3 separate regions of the Homo sapiens genome follow, and regions 1 and 2 are each linked to region 3. Evidence: promoter capture Hi-C in 16 types of primary human blood cells and fetal thymus (Javierre and others, 2016). All regions are on one chromosome and are shown on one strand. The core of a region is centred on a gene start or on the middle of the fragment in contact, and the rest is flanking DNA. Distances in the headings are between cores, read along the strand shown. Region 1 overlaps CHN2 (chimerin 2). Region 2 overlaps CHN2 (chimerin 2). Region 3 holds the start of CPVL (carboxypeptidase vitellogenic like).

What was found. Contacts are between HindIII fragments. The CHiCAGO score rates a contact against its expected background, and 5 or more counts as called.
Region 1: a contact is called between a fragment that was not itself captured here and the fragment with the promoter of CPVL in region 3, in 5 of 17 cell types (total CD8 T cells, endothelial precursors, M1 macrophages and 2 more). The highest score is 7.6, in total CD8 T cells.
Region 2: a contact is called between a fragment that was not itself captured here and the fragment with the promoter of CPVL in region 3, in 1 of 17 cell types (total CD8 T cells). The highest score is 6.2, in total CD8 T cells.

What each region holds. Positions count from the first base shown.
Region 1 is chr7:29,411,644-29,414,343 of GRCh38, forward strand. The region is part of intron 6 of CHN2 (chimerin 2); the gene reads left to right. Among named protein-coding and RNA genes, the nearest start is that of PRR15-DT, 150 kb to the right of the region's middle. The HindIII fragment of the contact is 1,776 bases long and covers 394-2,169 here.
Region 2 is chr7:29,428,510-29,431,234 of GRCh38, forward strand. The region is part of intron 6 of CHN2 (chimerin 2); the gene reads left to right. Among named protein-coding and RNA genes, the nearest start is that of PRR15-DT, 130 kb to the right of the region's middle. The HindIII fragment of the contact is 215 bases long and covers 1,167-1,381 here.
Region 3 is chr7:29,145,041-29,147,786 of GRCh38, forward strand. CPVL (carboxypeptidase vitellogenic like) reads right to left here and starts at 1,497. Exons shown (of 13, transcript NM_031311.5): 1 at 1,389-1,497. It also overlaps a transcript of CHN2 not described here. The HindIII fragment of the contact is 3,879 bases long and covers 1-2,746 here.

The DNA.
Region 1 (2,700 bases), core at 32-2,531, 270 kb after region 3:
TTCCAGGAGCCAGGCCTTTCACCCTCTTTCTGCTTGGCTCAATTAGGCAGGAAGTAGAGCCTGGGCTGCTGAAGGCTTCCCGCCACCCGATAGAGCCTGAGAATGGAGCCTGGAGAAAGTAGAGCCTGGAGATGGGGAGAGAGAAGCTGAGTCCTGAGGCCTGATCTGAGCTTCTCGCGGAGCTGCCCTTCAGCCCGCCCCCGTCTCTGGATGTTCCAGTACTGCTGGCAGTTCATTGCTGCCTTGCCTTTGAGCTGGGTAAGCAGATGTTGGTGCTGCATTTAAGTCGGCAGCTGCTATCATCCCCACAAGAACTGGAACCCACCTGTCAGCTCCCTGCCACCTCTGCTGTCCTTCATTCCCACTCACCTTACTTGTCACCATTACTGAGGAAGCTTAGCTATTCAAGTTCAGGTTCATTTTAATTTTAATCCAATAATCCACACTACCCTTCTTTAAAATGGTGGTGTTAAATCAGAAAAAGGGGACCTCTAGTGTTTACTGAAATGGGTAGGAATGTAGCATCTTGTTTACCAGGCAGACATGGGAAATAACCCAGAAGCCACTGCTGGAATGCAGCCGTCATCCTTTACCTCCTGGCTCCACAACATATATATATGTAGACCTCTTACAGTTAAATGCATTTCAGTAAGATTAAGGCGCTCTGCTAAAGAGTCTTTTTTTTTTTTTTTTTTTTTTTTTTTTGGGAGACGGAGTCTCCCTCTGTTTCCAGGCTGGAGTGCAGTGGTGCCATCTTGGCTGACTGCAACCTTCATCTCCCGGGTTCAAGTGATTCTTCTACCTCAGCCTCCCAAGTAGCTGAGACTACGGGCTCACACCACCACACCCAGCTAATTTTTGTATTTTTAGTAGAGACAGGTTTCACCATGTTGGCCACAACGGTCTCAATCTCTTGACCTCGTGATCCGCCCACCTTGGCTTCCCAAAGTGCTGGGATTACAGGCGTGAGCCACCGCGCCAGGACACTAAAGAGTCTTAATGAACCTGGTAAACCAGATTCTCAGCAACTTGTGATATTTCCGGGAAACTTTTTTAACAGAATGGGATGAAACATGGCCCCTTTTGCAGCATTGGATGTGGCCACGAGAGCCCTCTGTTGGAAGGGGTATCTCTCAGATCATTGGTACAACAGATGAGCAGTTGGGAACCTGTAGACTCTGAAGAAGGAAAGGTCAAAGTTCCATTTGTAGTCTTTCAGAATTAAAGGCTTGGCCTATAAGAATTTGTAGGGGTGGGTGGGTGGGGTCCTGGATCAACTGTGGGAAGAAGAAGGATTTTGTTCCCTGAATAATTCCCATTGCCGTTAATGGAAATGAAACTGTCAGGGCTACATTGGTTTGTTTTCATGGCCTCTGGACCAGGTTGCAGAACTGGCATTACTCATTTTGCAATAAAAAAATGTCTGGCCGGGTCTTATGATGATAGTTTATAAATGCCCCTGTTGGTTTTCTCTCTCCTTATACACAATCACTTTGAAGTTCCCGCAAAGTTAATATTTCACTTTGTTCCTAAGTCCCCATTTATGAACTTAATGAAGTCCAAGTATCAGAAGAGAAAGTTAAAGTTTACACATGCAACTTTGATTGTTCTCAAGTGACTCATTGGTTTAAAAAATTATTTAAAAAGTCAAAGCACTGTCATTTGCAAGAGACACTTTAATACCCAAGTTGAGGATTAGAAGTAAGACACAGAACTGTGGGCTATGCGTGTCCCAACACACCTTTAACAGAGTAAAAGCAGTTATATTTTACCACAGTACATATAAATTCCATGAAAATAATTCATGATATAAGGGACTTTTATTATGTTAATCTCAAATGATTTTAGGAAAGTTACAATTACTCCCCCTAGAAAGAACATTACATGTATTAAGCATATCATTGTTTTTAATCTATCATAAACTACATTATTTCATTCTGCTTCATGACAACCCTTAACTTCATTGTTCCTCCTCTTCCAACAAAGAAACAAGAAACCCGGGGCTTGGGAAAGCCAGGCGATTTGCCCAGGGTCGTAGAACTTGTGACTTGCGGGTCATTTCACGAACAGCCAGTTGCTAGAAGGTGGCTCGTCTGACTTCGAACAGGCTGTACTTTCCACTGGACCACATTGACACAGTGAGCAGATTTGCTGTGTGTCTCATTTTAAAGCTTCTAAACAAAGCGTTATATTAGGAATTATTTTCCTCTTCCCAATATCGGTACTCAGTGTCCTTGTGGCTTGATTCTAATCGTCTTCTGCTCTGGACTGATTTGTTCTTATGAAGAAATAGGTGTGGCTGAGGGAATTCCTCGAGAAGAGATGTGTTCATTACACACATGCCTGCCTCTGTGATTTCTAAGAGAACAATCTCTGTGTGCATTTTTAGCCTTGAGCTATATGAATTTGAAAAGGATTGGGCAATACTATAAAGCTCTGTATACCTTTACTATATCGCAAGGTGATGAGTCTGAAATGTGAGTCTTCAGACACAAGCATGTGTCTCACTTCTTCCAGTCATGATGGAGTCAGTTCAGATGAGAGGAAACTGAAATTGATGTTACCCTCCTGAAGGTTAGGAAGTGATGCCTGACCCAGCTCTCTCTCAGTGTAGCTTTGAAACACCCCCGAACTCTGGGATTGTAAAATGATATACATGGAGATTTTAATGCATTGGATTTTCTTTCCCCTCCAGTAAGT
Region 2 (2,725 bases), core at 24-2,523, 280 kb after region 3:
ACCATTTCCACAAGGCCCTCCTTTTCCAACTGTGTCTCTGCAAAAGCCTGGATTTTTTTTCATATTCTTCAACCAACACAACAAGTGAAATATAGGACCAGATGTGAGAATCCAACTGTCTTCTATCAAGTTAGATAACAAAGAGATTTGGAAAAACGTGACATAATGCTACTTTTGTCATTTTTTTGTTTGAGCCAATATGGTTAATTTTTATGTAAAAACTACTTATATTAGCACGTAGGGCCTATAAAATTTATATTTTTGTATTTTTAATGTATTAATATTCTGAAGTTTTCTTTGTAAGTATAAACTGATGCAACCCACAGAAGCAAAAGCTTTTTGGGGTCCTAAATAAAGAATATAAAGAGGTTCTGAGACCAGAGTTGAAGATGCAATGATGTAAATCCTGAGAGGCTTTTCTGGTCAGCTGGAAAATGAGTCTCTTTGGGCCGCACTGGGGAGGTTTCTATGGGCCAGTCCTGGAAGTAGCACATCATTTCCACTCGCATTTTCATTGAGTGGGGACTGTAACTGGCTACTGCTCAAGAGAAAGCAGAAATGGATGGGTCACCGCCTCCCAATCTTTACAGTAGTTGACTGTTTTCAAGGGTTTATTGCCTCTTGCCCTATGCATATCACAAGTATCTTGTTTAGTGTTCTCCAAGAGCAATAACATTTGGTTTCATATACTCAGACCACTTCAGAAAATTCCAGAATGAGCCTAGTTTTTGCCCTAGTCATTTGGAAGTTGGCAGACACTTATCTGAAATAGCTATGCATTTAACCAAGTAAGTAAAAGAAGAGATATCAGTCTTTTTAGAATCAGGTGGTATTGCAGTAAGAGTGAAATAGTCTATAAACATTTCTGATCTCCTTTGAAACTAACAGTAAGAGATGGTGGGAACTAAATTTAGAGACTCTTTTGTTTGTTTTGTTTTTGGTTCGCTTTGATATCTGATACCAATTATATAAAATCTACTTTATAAGTTGAGAAATTGATGACCTTTGACAAGAAACACACAGGTTGCCCATCTTACACTTTTTGGAACAAAGCATGAGTTACACACACACAGACACACACACACACCCATACTTCAAGGTTCAGTTCCCTGGAATATGTGTTCAAGGTTCAGTTCCCTGGAAAATGTGATTGAGTTTTATACTAAAGCTTTGAGAGCAGGACTTGAGTGGGTCCTAGTACAGACTTAGATAAAATTATAAGGTAGAAATTTGATTTTTATATTTGTTGTGACTAGATTAATTTTAGATGTTTATATTACATATAAATTTGGAAATGTATCTAACAATATGGTGTACTTTTGTGCTTTATATGGACTTTATTATATATAGGAACCTTGCGTAATTAGCGTATAGCTATTTAAGCTTCGTAGCTATATCTTCGATTTCATATGCTGTTTGTGTTATAATTAATTGGCAGTATAAGACCTCTGTAAAGAATAGAAGCACGCTGTTCCAAGGAGAAAAGGTAAATCCACTTTAGGATGCTCCCCTTTAGGAGGCCATTTCTACTGTACTTAGAAAGAAACACGCTTTGCATAGGATATATTGCTTAATATTTTCTTAGAGTTTAAAGGTAGCAAATCTTTGTTGAGTAACAGAGTCCAGCTAAAAGATTTAAACTGTGCAGGGCATTTGTTGTTTCCTGAACAGAAAGGCCAAGATATGGTGGTTTCAGGATGCGTTGGAGCTGATGGTTTTGTCATGGACCCAGGCTCTTTTCATTGCCCCTCTGCCAGCCCCACTACATGGCCTACCCCCTTGATTTGGTCAACAAGTGCACAGGAAGATTGCTGTTCCATCACAGGTGTTAAAAGCTTTAGACAAATTAAATTTAACGCAGTTTAGTTGAGCAAAGAATGATTCTAGAATCAGGCAGTCCCTAGAACCAGAATAGGTTCTGAGTGACTTGGGGCTGCCACGTGGTCAGATAACATTTATGGACAGCAAAAAGAAAGTGTTGCACAGAAAATGAAAGTGAGGTGCAGAAACAGCTGGATTGGTTACAGCTGGGCCGTGGCCTTTTTTGAGTCTGCTCTAAACAACTGGCCACATTTGGTTGGCTAAAGCTCAGCTACGAGAGTAGTTTACACATCAAAAAGTCTGTTTACGCATCAGAGTAGGTTACCATTCACTATGTATGGAGATGAGACACCTTTAGGCCAAACTTAAAATATGTACGAAGGCAGTTTTAGGCCAAGCTTAACTTAACAGAGGCATCACGTGACAATGTCCTAAGCAGAGGGTAAGAAAGATGATAGCAAAAAAAAAAAAAAAAAAAAAAGGGGACTTCTCCACTTCTCCATCCCTCCCTTTACAGGAGAAAGCCTCTCCCCAGCGGACTTTCCCTCACTGACCCCTGCTCTGTCCCATGCCCTCCTGTAAGCCAGTCATTGACAAAGTGAACAAGGAGCCATAATTGGCTTGGACTGTTCTTAGTCAATTCCTGGGATCCTTGCATGTTGCTGCCTAAGCCTAGTCAGGGTCCTGCTGGCGAGTAAGAAAGAGAGAGTAACTGGGGGGCAGAGAATCTGCCCCCAAGCCTAACCAGTAAGCGTACCTGGTATAGGGAACACCCACAACTCATAGAATATGATCAAAGTGCAACTGTCCAATTAAAACGCTTACATTTAGGGAAGTTTTGCCCCTGCTCCTGGGATAAATGCTCTGTTATGCCCCCTGACTTTTCTAGCCACTTGTAGCTAAT
Region 3 (2,746 bases), core at 247-2,746:
TAGACTAGCATGAGGTACACATCTAGAATGCCCAGTTAGCCAAACGGTCTTGACGACCATGCAGACTTTCATATGCCAACAAAGCCGGTGCAGTGTACTTTTCCAAAAGTGCTCCAATTCTCCTTTTGGACAACTTTCTTAAACGTTATTTACCAAGCTAATAAAATGTATTCTCAATGGACTTTTTACTCTGCTTACATCTTTGTTCTTACTCATCCCAAAGCAAAGAATGGAAAAAAAATGAGTTGTACATTTAGCCGGGGAAGGGAAAGGCAAGTACTGAGGGGCTCCTTTTTCATTTACTGATGCCAAAACTGAGGCTGTGGAAGATAAGTTACGTCCCTGATGTCATCCAAGTAGTGGATACCGGAACCAGGAATTGCACAGAATTGTCCAGCTCCAAAACCCAAGCACCTTGCTTGGGACCCACTGGGGTTGCAGTGAAGGTGGGGGGCTCAGAGGTGACTGCACACGGGTCATGCATAGCCACAGTCATTATATGGCCAGAGTTTTAAACATTATTTTGTTCTGTCTTCACCATAGACTTCATCATCAATCATAACTGATAAGGAAAATTACACTTAGCTGAAAAGCCAAGTCCCGTGCTAGGGAGGCATTTTCTGTATGTTATTTCTATTTCCAATAAAACAATTCTTTAAAAAGAAAAACTTATTATCTCCATCTTTCAGATGGAAAGACTGAGGTTTAGTAGGCTTAAATAATTTGCCCGAGGTCACTCACTAGCCAAGGCCAGAACTGGGATTTAAATCCACAAATATTCCAAAGTCCTTTTGTTTCTGTATCACTTCACAGGGAGCTGCTTCCACCTGTCTCCTGTGCCCTTGGTTTCTGCTAATCCTACATTCCAAGAATAAAAGTCTTCCTATGCGTTCCTAGGCAGAAGCCAAGTTTCCCTGCTTTGGGCACGTTCAAAATAGAAGGTATTTTCCGCTTCTCTTGCTTCTGAGCACCCACGAAATCAACACATCCCCAAAACACGCGTTGAGGGAGTAAGGGAAAGTGTCCTGCACCCGCCACCCTCCCGCGCTAAGAGCGGCAGAGGACCCCACAGCTTCGTACTTCCCCGGAGGAGCTCCTGGAGTAGGAGACGGCTTCTAGCCTGGAAGAACCCCGGGTGCGACAGTTGTGCCAGGAAACTTCAAGAGTATTCCCTCGGCTGGGCGCACGCAGTACATCCCCAATGCTCCAATTTGAACTTTGACTCGGCCACGACCACCCCACTCCAGTCTCACTCTACGGTGCTTTCTCCCCTGTTGGTGCTGAGGGCTTTTGAGACTACCTGCCCCGCGCTCCCTAAGTCCGAGGGACCGAGGCGAGGACCTGTCCCGCTGAGCTGGCACGACCCACGCAGGGCAGGCGGCACTTACGCGGCGCAGTCGGTGCTCCTCCCTGAGCCGCGGCGCGCAAGGACCCCAGCCGGTTGTCCTTGCAGCGCTTCCCAAATCAGGCAGAAGTGAGGCAGCCCCACCCAGTCACGAGGACCCTGCAGAACTCGAGCCTTTAAGCGCTCCTCTAGGCTCACATGACCCAGACCCACAGGGCAAAAAGTGCGTCGTCGTGTCCCAACCTCCTGGTCCCAGAAACCTGGCCGCATCAAGTCAGCGCTTCCCATGCTGGAAGAAGCAAGCAGCCCCAGGGTGGAATCTTAAAAATTAATGAAGAGCATCGGCGGGGTGCCATTCAGGTTGGTTTGTCCCTTTGTTTTATTTTGATTTTGTCTCCCAGTTTTTAAAAGCTGCTATCTTAAAATTTCAACCCTGTATTTTGAAATTATTTCTGCACTCTAGGACTTACTTGCAAGCCCAGGATTTACATTTGGAAAGCGAGTGGTGTTTGATTCCCACTGTTTAAAAAGGCAACACACGTTCGCTGATGGTCTACATTCCAGCTGCACTAGCAGTAAGCTCGCACCAAGTGCCACTGTCCTGCCAAGCACTCTCCTGAATCACTGCGCTGGAGTCTCAGAGCCACCTGATGTGTTCTGTACCATTATACCCATTTTGCAATTGGGGGACACAAACTAAGTGAGGTTAAGTAACCCATCCAGGGTCACATTGCTTGTAAGTGACCTGAGTGTATATTATTAGCCACCACCAGGTGCTGGGCATCGAGCCAGACAGTACGGGAGCAAGAACTAAAAAAGGCAAGGAGGTTGCAATGGCAAGTAGATAACACAAAATAAAGGAGGGTCATCATTATCAGCAACAGCAGCGTCAACTGCCAGACAGGTGGGAGAGGCCACGGGGAATCTTCTGCACTGTCCCGGGCCAACCTCCATCTCCTCACAGCTAGCTGCAGGAGTGAGCCCAGGGAAACCCGCAGTAGAGCAGCCCAGCCAACCCGACAGTCAGGGGGAAAAATTGTTTTAAGCCACTTTCAGTTTCGCGTAGTTTGTTATGCAACTAAGGCTAACTAAAGCACTAGTTTTACGAGCTGGAACAAACTAATGTCACTGAATATCTGTTTTCTCCTAAGTACCTACTTTATTGGGTTGTTGTGAGGACTCACTGAAAAACTATGTGTAAATCACCCAGCACAAAGTATGTGCTCAGTGACTGCAGTCATTCTTTGCTATCATACCTTCCATATGGAAGTACTTCCTACCCACCTAGCTCTTTAAGGAGAAAAATCTGTTTGTGGGAAAATAATTCTTTTAAGGCCAAAATCAGCCCACCTTTAATATATGCAGGACCCAGGGCAAAAGTACAAACAGAGATCTGTAGGC